2 separate regions of the Homo sapiens genome follow, and region 2 is linked to region 1. The links are contacts of gene promoters, found by promoter capture Hi-C in blood cells and fetal thymus (Javierre and others, 2016). All regions are on one chromosome and are shown on one strand. Each heading gives the region's core, a stretch centred on a gene start or on the middle of the fragment in contact. The rest is flanking DNA. Distances are from core to core; before and after follow the strand shown.

Evidence for each region. Contacts are between HindIII fragments. The CHiCAGO score rates a contact against its expected background, and 5 or more counts as called.
Region 2: a fragment that was not itself captured here is called in contact with the fragment with the promoter of PARP14 in region 1 in 1 of 17 cell types (total B cells); the score reaches 5.2 in total B cells.

The regions. Positions count from the first base shown.
Region 1 is chr3:122,677,097-122,683,574 of GRCh38, forward strand. PARP14 (poly(ADP-ribose) polymerase family member 14) reads left to right here and starts at 3,743. Exons shown (of 17, transcript NM_017554.3): 1 at 3,743-3,974. The coding sequence starts at 3,788. RefSeq lists enhancers at 2,731-2,850, 3,254-4,026, 3,451-3,850, 4,392-4,481, 5,867-5,946 and 1 more and a silencer at 4,091-4,140. The HindIII fragment of the contact is 13,941 bases long and covers 1-6,478 here.
Region 2 is chr3:122,588,782-122,595,259 of GRCh38, forward strand. The region is part of intron 1 of PARP15 (poly(ADP-ribose) polymerase family member 15); the gene reads left to right. It also overlaps the pseudogene LOC100421636. Among named protein-coding and RNA genes, the nearest start is that of PARP15, 14 kb to the left of the region's middle. The HindIII fragment of the contact is 7,907 bases long and covers 1-6,347 here.

The sequences.
Region 1 (6,478 bases), core at 2,493-4,992:
GATATTTGTAATGGTGTGCCACTGTTCATCTCTTTCCAACTCGGCATTCACTGAAATCACACTGGGAACTTCATCAGCTGTTGTGAGAATATTTACATCATGGAATTGAAAAACACTACACATCAGGGCCTGAGTCGTTGCTTTGTTGGTTATCTTGACTTAAAGTGATGGAGAATTTGCTAACAGGGCAGATTATTTAAAAGTGGGTCACATCTATAGCCATTACATTGTAAAAAGCACAAAAAATTGAGGAAATATTCTTCCAGTATTTGAAAATTATTATCCAATTTAGTAAAGAAGGAATTATGTCATTGACAAATAAGGGTTCTGACATGTCTGCATTGCTTCACTTTCATTTTACTTGTTAATGTAAACAAAAGTGTCAACTTACATTTATGTCAAAACTACACTCATTCCTCAATGGCAACCATAGTTTGCCTATGGCTTTAAAAAAAAAAAAAAAAAAAAAATATATATATATATATATATATATCCAACACAAACTTTATTGTTAAATGAGTTATGTTTGTCTTGCACTAATAAACTTTTATTTCACCCAAATTAGAGCAATAATCTTCCATACTTAAGTATCTTCCCTGCCCAATAATTCAAAGAAACAAAATCCAGAATGATTAGTATAGATATAATTGTGGCAAAAATCTTTGAAACATTCTTTGAGAATCAATCAGCTATTTAGAAACTACAATAGAGTATTATATATTTTGTTATTATTTGTAAATTATGTGTTATCCAACCATTATATCAGTAAAATTTATAATAAACATAACACACATGGAAACTTTGTTTCAAAAATCTGGTTGCTCAATATTTAACAGCCATTACTGGTAGGTGTCATGCATGATATAGTGTGGTAGTAAAATATTGTGTGTTTCTATTTAAAAAAATATGATCTAGATTATACTGAAAATGAATGCTTGTCTTGAGACATACACATGTGTGTTCAATTCAATGGTTACCTAATTGCATGATGAGGAAAGGTCTTTACACAAACACGGAAAGATCAAGTCTACTCTGGACTCTTCTGGAGAAGCCACCTCCACCTCCCACTCAACCATAGTATTGGTGAAACGAAATTACTTCTATTTGGGAAAATGCATCAGTAGTAATTACTGTCCTGGCCAGTTGAGGGGTATGGAGACTGTCCCTATGGAGGTTTGAAGATAAAAGCTCTTGAAAGGTACCTGAGCATAGGGAGTAAGGCCAAAGACTGTGATGTGTCCATCAGGGGGCTCCCTCTGAGGGTAGAACTTCTTGGAGTACTTTTCCCTTGATGTATGGCCATGTCTTATTTTGGGGTGACTAGGTCAGGAGTTTCAGAAGCAAAATGAGGTGGAGTGGTGGGCATGAGGTACCTACAACTCACTGATTCAGGACAGAAGGGAAAGCAGCCCTTTCCCTCCTTTATACCTCAATGGTAGAAATGAGGAGGCTGATGCTAGTTGGTAGAGAAGTTCAAAAGAGCACGATGCTAGGCTACGGCAGTTTGTAGAGAAACCAAAAGGGGGAATTTAGATGAAGTAGGGAAAGGGAAGTTCAGCCCAAAAATGCAGACATGGGCTGTTACATTAAGATGAGCTGTAGCTGTGAAGTAGAAGGAGAATCAAGGAACACGGCCACTTCTACAGCAGGCCACCCCCACCCCAGGCCCTGAGAAGACACGTGCTTCCCAGGAAGAAAGGATCAGAAGGCAGATACCCACAGGAAACAGAGAATTGTGAGAGGATACGCATTCTTCAAGTGAACAAGGCAAAAATAACTTGCAGAAAACAAAGTACTGCAGGAGCTAATGCCGTTCAACAATTTGCCCCTTCTAGAACTTTCTTTCCTTGGCTTTCAAGACCTGCCATCCTGATCCTCTGATAGCTCCTTCCCAGTCCACCCAGGCATGATAAGCAGACCTCGGTGGTAAGACACATTGTCGATAATTAAATAAATCCTCGAAAGTAATCCAGAAATGCCTCTGACTTTATTTCTTATACAATAATTATGTGAGGAAAAAGGGAAACTTTTTGCTGAGTTCTGGAACCCCAAACTCAGGGGAGAGTGGGAGAGGAGGAGTGCTGATTTTAGTTGTGGTTTGGGATGAGATGTAAAGGCCCTGGGGAGAAACAGTCACCAAGTCTGGCTGAGGGCGCTTGTCCTCCCGTCTTCCGCATGCGGGGGTCCAGAGCAGTTTTGGATCAGATGATGAGCGCCATCTGCAGGTAGCAAGCTGGAGGCAGGAGAAAATATCTGTGTACTGTTTAGGATTATTACAGAGCCGAAATAAAAGCCAGGTAAACCATTTGGCCCATCTCTGGTTCTCTTCATTCTGAAATTCAGCCCGATCCTGTAACCCCACAACCTACTGCCTGGCTCCTTCTTCCCCTTCACGGTCACATTTCTGCAAAGAGCGTGTTACGCTCTCTGCTTCCACTTCCTTCCCTCCCTTTCAGTCTTCAGTAGCTGCCATCTCCCTCTCCTCCCTCCTCACCAGGAGACTATGCTTGCCGCTCCTCAGCAGTCCAGCAGACACTTCTCTGACCTGAGGTATCGGTAGCACTGGAATGATAATCCCCCCGCCCCCCTCGACTTGCAACACTGCTTTATTTGGGGTCAAGGAAACACACAGCCCCAGCTTCTCTCCCATCACTCGGCCTCCCCTCTTGCAGATGCCACTATTATCCAGCCACTTGCACGGGCCATCCATGGCTGACCATGGAGTCATCCTTGAGCTTCTCCTTCTCTCAAGGCTCACATTCTTCAGCAAGTCCTGCTTTCACTATTAATTGAGAATCCTCGTTTTCTCAGTTCTTCTCTGCCAGCACCCCAGTCTCAGCCACCCTTGTCTCTCACTTAGGACACTATGGTAGCCACTTGGCTGATCTCTCTGCCTCCACTCTAGCCACCACGCAGCAGCCGGAGTGATCCTGTACATGTGAATCACACCGTGGAACCCCACTTCCTAACCCTCCAAGGCTATCCCCTGATATCCTGGGGTTATCAGGTTACATGTCACCGCCCTATAAACCCTCCCTGAGCCGCCACAGCTGGACTAGGAGCCACTCCTCATCTGTTCCAGGAACACAAGTATATTCTTTCCCAGAGCACCTATTGCCCACTGTGTTCACCATAGCTCCGTGAGCTCAGCGAGGGTTCAGTGAGTGAGTGCATGGCGCCTAGTAAATATTCCACAAAAAAAACTGTGAGTGTAATTGTTTCCCCCACATTTCTAGACATGTAGTATTAACAGATCAAGGAACAGAAAGCAAAACAGGGAAAGCAACGTAAAATTCTGATAATCACAATGATTGCTGAAAAAGTCCCCAAATAGGCAGCAAACATTCTAAAGGGGCCACAGTTTGTGAGTCATTTTATTCTTTTGTAAAGGGTCGGCTTGCGGCAAAAATTAAATGATCTTTGCGTTTGGGCAAGGTCTGGTGCCCCAAAGCTGCCGACTTGATCTGCGGTTGGGGCGAGCGGCAGGTAGGGGGCCCGGAGTTAGGAGGGGGTGTGGGAGCCCGTGGAGCACAGGTGAACTGAGGCCGCCTTCCCGGGGCGCCGCTGGCCAGCCCCAAAGGGTTACTTTGGCCTTGGCTGTGGGCCGAATGCGAAGGTGGGGAGGTGGGCGGGGGATGACTCTGCCATTCCTGGGTCCGCTGTGTTAGGCTGAAGGCAAAAGGAAACCAAGGCCTGGGAGTTTTCCAGGAAACGAAAGCGAAAGAGTCAAAGTTAGCGGCCCGGAGTTGGCGCGGCCCCTGCAGTCCGGCGGAGAGCGGAGCTGAGGATGGCTGTGCCCGGCTCCTTCCCGCTGCTGGTCGAGGGCTCCTGGGGCCCCGACCCCCCGAAGAACTTGAACACCAAGTTGCAGATGTACTTCCAGAGCCCGAAGAGGTCGGGAGGCGGCGAGTGTGAGGTCCGCCAGGATCCCAGGAGCCCATCCCGCTTCCTGGTGTTCTTCTACCCGGAGGACGGTGAGGGGCGCGAGGGGTGGGGTGAGGAGGGGGCACCTCTGCCCTCCCTCCAGGGAAATGGCGGCAGGGCACGCACGGGAGGGTGACCCGCCCGACTTCGGCGGCTGCTGTAGCGGAGGTGGCCGGGGCGGGGGCGGGGGCGGGGGCGGCAGAATGGATTCCGAGCGCACCCGGGGCGCTGCGGTTCCCCGGCGCCCTGCGCTTCCAGGCGCTTAATGGCGCGGCCCGGAGGTGGCGGCGGAACCGCGCAAGTAACTCTTTATCCCTCGATCGTTTTCTGTCTTTCCCTGTTGTGGTGGTGTTATTGTTTGTTGTTGTTGTTGTGGAAGTGAGTCTATCCTCTTATCATCCTTTTCTGTCTTTTCCTGTTGTTATTATTCTTGTGTGGGGAAGGAAACTGATTAAGAAACGTGGCAAGTCACAGAGATTCCTTGTGGTTCTTGGAGATTCCCAGGGGTCCCGGGGTCACTTGGGAGAGGGGCAGAGGCGCTACCTAAAATCACACTGCCTGAATGTCAACGTAGAGCCGTCACAGCGGCCACATTGGAGGGGCTGTCGATCGACCACAGGTGCCCATTGTCGAGGGCCTGCCGGGGCCTCTTCTCCGAGTCTCTAGTGGCCCTCAGATTGGGAGCAAGGATGATATTCTGAAGTGATTGTGGGTTGGGAGATTTGAGCTTTGGAGGGAAAGTCGGCAAAGTTCCCTCCTTACAGACCCACCACTACTTGGTGGGCCAAGAGCCCAGAGGTGATCTGCTGGCTCAAGGGCCTCCCTGGTCTGCAATGGGAAGCCAGTGACCTGCAGCTCCCAGAATGGGCACCTTTTCCACTGGCATCTTATGGATGATGACCTATCGGGATCTAGTCAACCCCTAATTCCGCTTTCATGTCGCTAGATTTGGAGAAGCATTCGGGCCAGAGGAGAGGCAAGGAGGCTGAGGCTGAGGCCATGCAATTAGAGTGCCCAAGCAGGGATCCAAAAAGGAAAAATGAAACAGAAAAAGAATGGCGCACAGAAGGAAGGAAGGAGGGGGACAGGAGATATGCTTGGCTCATGGCCCTTATGAAAACAAAATACCATGTTTTCCTAGGATTAATTTTACCAAGGAGTGCTCAGAAGGGCAACTGTGTGATATTAGTCATTTCTCTTTTGGGTGTCACTTTTCCTTGAGGGTTTTCCCCACTTTGACTTCAGAGGTCAGCATCACCATCGATCTGGCCCTTAAGGATGCTTCTTTCTCCTTTAGATTCCATTATCCTTAGAAGTAGGTCTGACCTGCATCTGAATCACCTGGAGAGCAGGTTAACCAGGCACCTTCCCAGCTCTGTTTTAGAGATTCAGGTTCAGTGAATGTGGGGTGGGTGGGAAGCGTGTATTTAACCGGCAGCCCAGGTGACCCTAATGTGTTCAAGTTTCAGAATTTCCGTAGTTAATGTTAACCCCAAATGAACAAAAAGAAATAATTATACAAATTTAAACAGCATGAAAATACAAATAGCACAAAGTATAATTTTGTGATGATAAAATAACTCAATTCTAGCCCTCCAAGCAGAAAAGATTTCAGTCTTCCTGCTGGGCTTCCATCCTTGACCGGCCCCAGCCCACTACTCCTCTTCCTCCACCCCCAGGCTGCTCCAGTGGCCCCTCTTGTCTTACCCCCCAGCACAGATGACCCAAAACTTATTAAAACTCAAAACCGGCCGGGCGTGGTGGCTCACGCCTGTTAATCCCAGCACTTTGGGAGGCTGAGGCAGGTGGATGACGAGTTGAGGAGATCGAGACCATCCTTGAGCAACATGGTGAAACCCTGTCTCTACTAAAACACACAAAAAAATTAGCCGAGCGTGGTGGTGTGCGCCTATAGTCCCAGCTACTCAGGAGGCTGAGGCAGGGGAATTGCTTGAACCAGGGAGGCAGAGGTTGCAGTGAGGTGAGATCGCACCACTGCACTCCAGCCTGGCAACAGAGCAAGACTCCATCTAAAACAAAACAAAAACAAACAAACAAAAAGAAACAAACAAACAAAAACAAACTCGAAACCTAGTATGGTCTAAGTTCTTGGGGGTGGAAAATCCCTAGTCAGTTTCAGTTTCCTACTTGAGGAACCACTTTCTCAGTAACAAGGGTCAGGAATTTGCTAACAATGAATGACCTACGCTTGAAGTCCCAGAAGTGCATTCTTCTTCTGCAGAGGACACTCTCCACCCTCCATGCCAGGAAGTGGCCTCAACAGGTGCGGGCCCATAGCATAACCTGATTTGATTCATATAAACTGTAATAGGCAGATAACAAGAATGAGCCCACCAGCACTTCTCCGTATTTATTCATGTATAGCAAATAGAAACAAATGGGAAGCTGTATCTCACTTTTATATAGTTCACTGGATTTCTGAAAAGTTGGTGTAAATTGACATAACATTTTAAGCCCTGTTTCAGATGTGTCTATTTTATCATACTTTACCAACATAGTTTGGTTCCTGGTTGTTGTCGGGTTCCTTGTGGTA
Region 2 (6,478 bases), core at 1,144-3,643, 90 kb before region 1:
TCATGGATTTATATATTCTGGACATTTCACATAAATGGATTCATACAATATGTGGCCTTTTGTGACTGGCTTCTTTCACTTAGCATGTTTTTTCCAGGTATGTTGCAGAATGTATAAGAACTTCATTACTTTTTCTTCTTTTAACCAAATAATATTCCATTGTATGAATATATCACCTTTTATTTATCCATTCAGTTGGTGGACATTTGGGTTGTTTCTACTTTTTGATGATTGTGAATAATGCTGCCGTGAACATTTGTTGTCTCAGTCAGCTTGGGCTGCTGTATCAAATATCATAGACTGGATGACTTCAAAAATGAACTTTTTTTCTCATAGTCTGGAGGCTGGAGGTTTGCGATCAGGGTCCCAGCATGGTAGAGTTCTTAGTAAGGGCTCTCTCATCCTGGTTTGTCGATGGCCCCTACTTGCTGTTTCCTCACATGGGCTTGTCCCTTCATCTTCTTATATTAATCCCATCATGGGGTCCACCCTCATGACCTCATCTAAACGTAATTGTCTCCCGAGAGCCCCAACTCCAAATACAATCACATTGAGAATTAGGACTTCAACTTAAGAATTTAAAGAGGGACACAAACATTCAGTCCATAGTATTTTTGTAGAGGTTACTGTGTGGACGTATGTTTTCACGCCTCTTGGGTATATACCTTGAAGTGAAATTGCTGAGTCACATGGTAACTAACTTTTTAAGGAACTGATACATTATTTTCCTAAATCGTTGCCTTATTTTATATTTCCACCAGCAATGTGTCTTTTTCATTTTAGTCATTCTAGTGGGGTGAAGTGGCACCTCATTGTGGTTTTGATTTCCACTTTCTTAATGGCTAACGATGTTGTGCATCTTTTTAATGTCCTTATTGGCCATTTGTATATCTTCCTTTAAGAAATGTCTATTCAAATCCTTTGTTGGTTTTTAAATTGGATTTTTTAAAAATTGTTGACTTGTAAGGGATCTTTATATATTCTAGGTACAAGTCTTATTGGCTATATGATTTGAAAATATTTTCTTCCATTCTGTGAGTTGTCTTTTCACTTTCTCATTCATGTTATTTTTTATTTTCACAAAATGTATTATTTGTAAGGCATAACTTTTTTTTTTTTTTTTTTTTTGAGACAGAGTCTCGCTCTGTCCCTGGGGTGCAGTGGCACAATCTTGGCTCACTGCAAGCTCTGTGTCCTGGGTTCATGCCATTCTTCTGCCTCACCCTCTCAAGTAGCTGGGACTACAGGTGCCCTTCACCACGCCTGGCTAATTTTTTTGTATTTTTAGTAGAGACGGAGTTTCACCGTGTTAGCCAGGATGGTCTTGATTTCCTGACCTCATGATCCACCCGCCTCGGCCTCCCAAAGTGCTGGGATTACAGGCATGGGCCACCGCACCCGGCCTGTAAAGCATAACTTTTTATCATTTTCATTTCTATACTTACCCTCTTTTCTTTTCCTCACCTTATTTGGATGACCAAGAAGAGTTCCAAATAATATATATATTTTGAGATGGGGTCTCGCTCTGTTGCCCAGGCTGGAGTGCAGTGGCATGATCTCGGCTCACTGCAAGCTCCACCTCTGGGGTTCATGCCATTCTCCTGCCTCAGCCTCCCGAGTAGCTGGGACTACAGGCACCCAGCACCACGCCCAACTAATTTTTTTTGCATTTTTATTAGAGACGGGGTTTCGCCTTGTTAGCCAGGATGGTCTCGATCTCCTGACCTCGTGATCCACCTGCCTCGGCCTCCCAAAGTGCTGGGATTACAGGCGTGAGCCACCGTGCCCAGCCCCAAATAATATATTGAAGCAAAGTATACATATCAGTATACATATCTGATTTTTGTTTTATTTTGATTTTTACTACTTCTAAGGAGAGTGACTTCTTCTTCACTGTGAATACTGTTGACTTTGACTCTTTATTATGCTAAGGGAAAGTTCCTTTATTTCTCTTTCAAAGATAAAAAACAATGAAAAATGGAAGTCAGAGTCTCTATTGTCCCCTTCCTTTGTGATAAAAGTCTACTTAAACCCAGTCTTCTTTCTGAATATGCAACACTTTTGTGTCTTGGTTACATCTGCAGACTGCCCTTTTGTTATGCACTAACAGAAACTTTATTTGCGGTAAAATGTTGTAGCTCTATTAATTTAAATCAGTGGATGATCGCCATCATTTACTATCATGTTTGTTACTTTTTTCCCCATGATTTGGTGAGTAAATCTGACTTTACAAAATATAATGTTTAACTTTATGCAATATTTTAGCCAATGAGTTACCATTTTCCTTGTTATTAAAAGAATAAAGCAATGAGTCAAATCTATATTCTTCCAAAGTATTTAAAAATAGGAAGTAATATAAAGGCCAAATCCTTTCAAATCTCAAATCAGATATAAAAATATCCTGAGTGTTTCTGTCTCCTTAAAAATCAGTAAGTTGGAACATTCAGGCACAAAAGTAATACTTTCCAGAAGAGTGGATAAAATGGAAGAAGTGGAAATGGATGAAATAGATGAATTTGCAAAAGAGATCCTTTACAAGTCTCTCTTTTGGTTGCACTTCACAATATCCAAGACGTCATGACTGAGAACATGCTATCCTTGCTCATGGAGTCTGTTACTGGCCTGCCAGAAGCCAATTGTGACTTCAGGGTGGGAGTAACACACAACATTAAAGTCGTCACTTTTCTTAAAAATATTGGGGCCAGGCACAGTGGCTCACGCCTGTAATCCCAGCACTTTGGGAGGCCGAGGCGGGCAGATCACGAGGTGAGGAAATCAAGACCATCCTGGCAAACATGGTGAAACTGCATCTCTACTAAAAATACAAATATTAGCTGGGCATGGTGGCGCATGCCTGTAATCCCCACTACTCAGGAGGCTGAGGCAGGAGAATTGCTTGAACCAGGGAGGCGGTTATTGCAGTGAGCCGAGCCGAGATTGCTCCACTGCACTCCAGCCTGGTGACAGAGCGAGACTCTGTCTCAAAAAAAAAAAAAAAAAGGTATTGATAAGACAGACTATAGCTTTCACCTTTCATTTGCAAACTATGGTTGCATGCTACTTTGAGATTCCAGGCGTCCCACAATGGGTCTTCATTAAAAGAATGAGATACCATCTCACGCCAATCAGAATGGTGATTATTAAAAAGTCAAGAAACAATAGATGCTGGTGAGTTTGCAGAGAAATAAGAATGCTTTTACACTGTTGGTGGGAATGTAAATTAGTTCAACCATTGTGGAAGATGGTGTAGTGATTCCTCAAAGATCTAGAACCAGAAATACCATTTGACCTGGCAATCCCATTACTGGGTATGTATCCAAAGGAATATAAATCATTCTGTTACAAAGATACATGCATACATATGTTCATTACAGCACTTTTCACAATAGCAAAGACATGGAATCAACCCAGATGCCCAATGATGATAGACTGAATAAAGAAAATATGGTACATATATATCATGGAATACTATACTGCCATAAAAAGGATGAGATCATGTCCTTTGCAGGGACATGGATGGAGCTGGAAGCCATTATCCTCAGCAAACTAACACAGGAACAGAAAACCAAACACCACATGTTCTCACTTATAAGCTGGAGCTGAACAGTGAGAACACATGAATACAGGGAAGGGAACAGCACACACTGGGGCCTGTCTGGGAGTGAGGTGGGGGAAGGGAGAACATTAGGAAAAATAGCTAATGCACACTGGGCTTAATACTGAGGTGATGGGTATTTAGGTGCAGCAAACCACCACGGCAAACATTTACCTATGTAACAAACCTGCACATCCTGCACATGTACCACAGAACTTAAAATAAATATTAAAATTAAAATTAAAAAAAAAAAAAGAAAACCAGACAAGGCAAAGGAAGAGGGGAAAGTCAAGCATGCACATAGCACTGTTCTAACCATTAAACTAATGTTAACTCTTTTAATCTTCTTACAAGGCAAGTAGTATCATTATCCTCACTTTCTGGGTGAGGAAACTAAGGCATAGAGAAGTTAAATGACTTGCCCAAAGTCACACATTCAGTAATGGTGGAGCTGGGATTCAAATCCCAGGCAACCCTTGCTTTTAAGCCTTACACTAAATGGCCTTATTAATGCTACAGCAAGAATTCAAAATCAAATCTCTCTGACTCCAATGTGTGTGCCCTTATCCACTATGCCAGGAATGAGCTCTGCTACTTCATTTTTGTAAATCATTTTATCTTCTAGTCACCTTGAACATTCAATTTGTAAATCACTTTATCTTCTAGTCACCTTGAACATATATATATGTATAGACTAAAAGATAAAATTATCTGTCTATCTATCTATCTATCTATCTATCTATCTATGTATCTATCTATCATGTATCTATCTATATTTTTGAGACAGAGTCTCCCTCTGTCGTCCAGGCTGGAGTGCAGTGGCGCAATCTCAGCTCACTGCAACCTTCACCCCCCGGGTTCAAGCTATTGTCCTGCTTCAGCATCCCGAGTAGCTAGGATTACAGATGCCCGCCACCATGCCTGGCTAATTTTTTTTGCATTTTTAATAGAGACGGGGTTTCACCATGTTGGCCAGGCTGGTCTCGAATTCCTGATCTCAAGTGATCCACCCACCTCAGCCTCCCAAAGTGTTGGGATTACAGGCATGAGCCACTGCGCCTGGCCAATTTATATTTTTAAATACGTTTTTATCTATGTTATTAAGATAACGTGGATTCACTGTAAAAAAGAAATTAGTACAAAAATATGTATGGAAAAATGCAAAAATAATCCTATTAATAACTTAATATTTCAGTAACCATGCATTTGTACATCTTTTGATGCATATATGCAAATATATAGATAAAATGATACTAATGTATAGGACATTATACATACATACATTTTTATTATAAACACATTTGTTTTCTCTAGTGTTTTACTTTTTCTTCTGTGTTCACTCCCTCAGCCTTTCCCAGCCCCACCTGCCCCAAACTGGGAAATCAATTTTACTACAAAATCACAAGTATATATTTACATTTATAGAAATTTTGTCGCTTGTTTTGAAAAGGTAGAATCCTATAAGAAAAAAAAAAGTTGTGCTCTTTCTAACACTCAGTAAGAGAGAATTGTGAGGGAAATATGCATAATTACTTCTGCTACTACTAATAGCTAACATGTATTAAGCACTTACTCTATGCCAGGCACTGTGCTTAGACTTTTACTTACCCTATCTTAAAACATATAGCAATATGAGATAGGTACTATTAGTAAGAATGAAATTGGGGGTTAGAGAGGATTGAATGACATATTCACAGTCACACAGCTAGTACCTGTTTCAGAATTCCATGTTAGACATCCTGACTTCTGAGTGTATTTTCTTAACTGCTATGTACATCCCCTCAAATTGCCAGTGAGTTTTAATAGTGAAGCTATATGACATGGCTGTTGTCAGGGATCACTTGAGCCAAGGAGTTTAAGGTTACAGTGAGCTATGATGGGACACTGCATTCCAGCCTAGGCAACAGAAAAACAACAACAACAACAAAGAATCAGATATTTATGACTTTATAATCATGACATGTCCAAATAGATATCAAGGTATGGGTAAGTTTGTATGGGAGACAAAGATAAATCAGATTGAGAAAACAATATTGTGTAACAATTATTACTATTATCATATTACAAAGTAGCTCCATGTCCTTGATTACACTTGGAGAGGTAACTGTTGATCCTGTTCCTCAAACGATCTCAAATTGGAAGTCATTGTTAAAGATTGCTGTGTATTCAGGGTAGGCAACGTAGGGTAAGTTGAAATTGATATAGGGTAGGGGAGGTTGAAATTGACGTTGTGAAATCTAACTTTACATAGAAATTAGCATCTAATTTTAATTTGTGGTTATCGCCTCTAAATCAAATTACTTTTAAAAATCTATTTTCTTCTAATATGAAATAAAATTACAATACCAATAAGTTGATTTTTACTTCTAGATGTCAACACATTTATTAATGTTTGTGATGGACACCATGGAAGTTCAGCAACTTCAGATTTCCTCAGAACCTTTGGAACAGACAACAACCATTAAGATTGAAAATATGCCACTTGATGGTGAATGTAATTACATAACAATTTTCTTCAAAAATCCCAAAAATGGAAGAGAAAGAGTAACCAATGTTCAGTATTTCCCAGAGGAGGGTTCAGCCCTGGTTGAGTTTTCTGACTACAAAGGATTAATTTCTCTTCCTTCTTGATGTTCAAAGTGGTTATTCAGCTTTTAATGCATGGATGAAGTCAGATTAGAGGCTGCACAGGTGATAAGGAAACCCATCAAAGCCACAACATTCTTACTGGAATATGCTGTGAATTAACTCAAGCTTTGAACAGGTTCTATGGGGATCTAGCTAAAGGAATTGTTTTTTTTTTCGCAGTAACAAAACAAAAGCTTCCCTTGACCCCAATTTCCACATAGCTACTACTTCATTTCTTTGCTTCCCTTTGCAGCA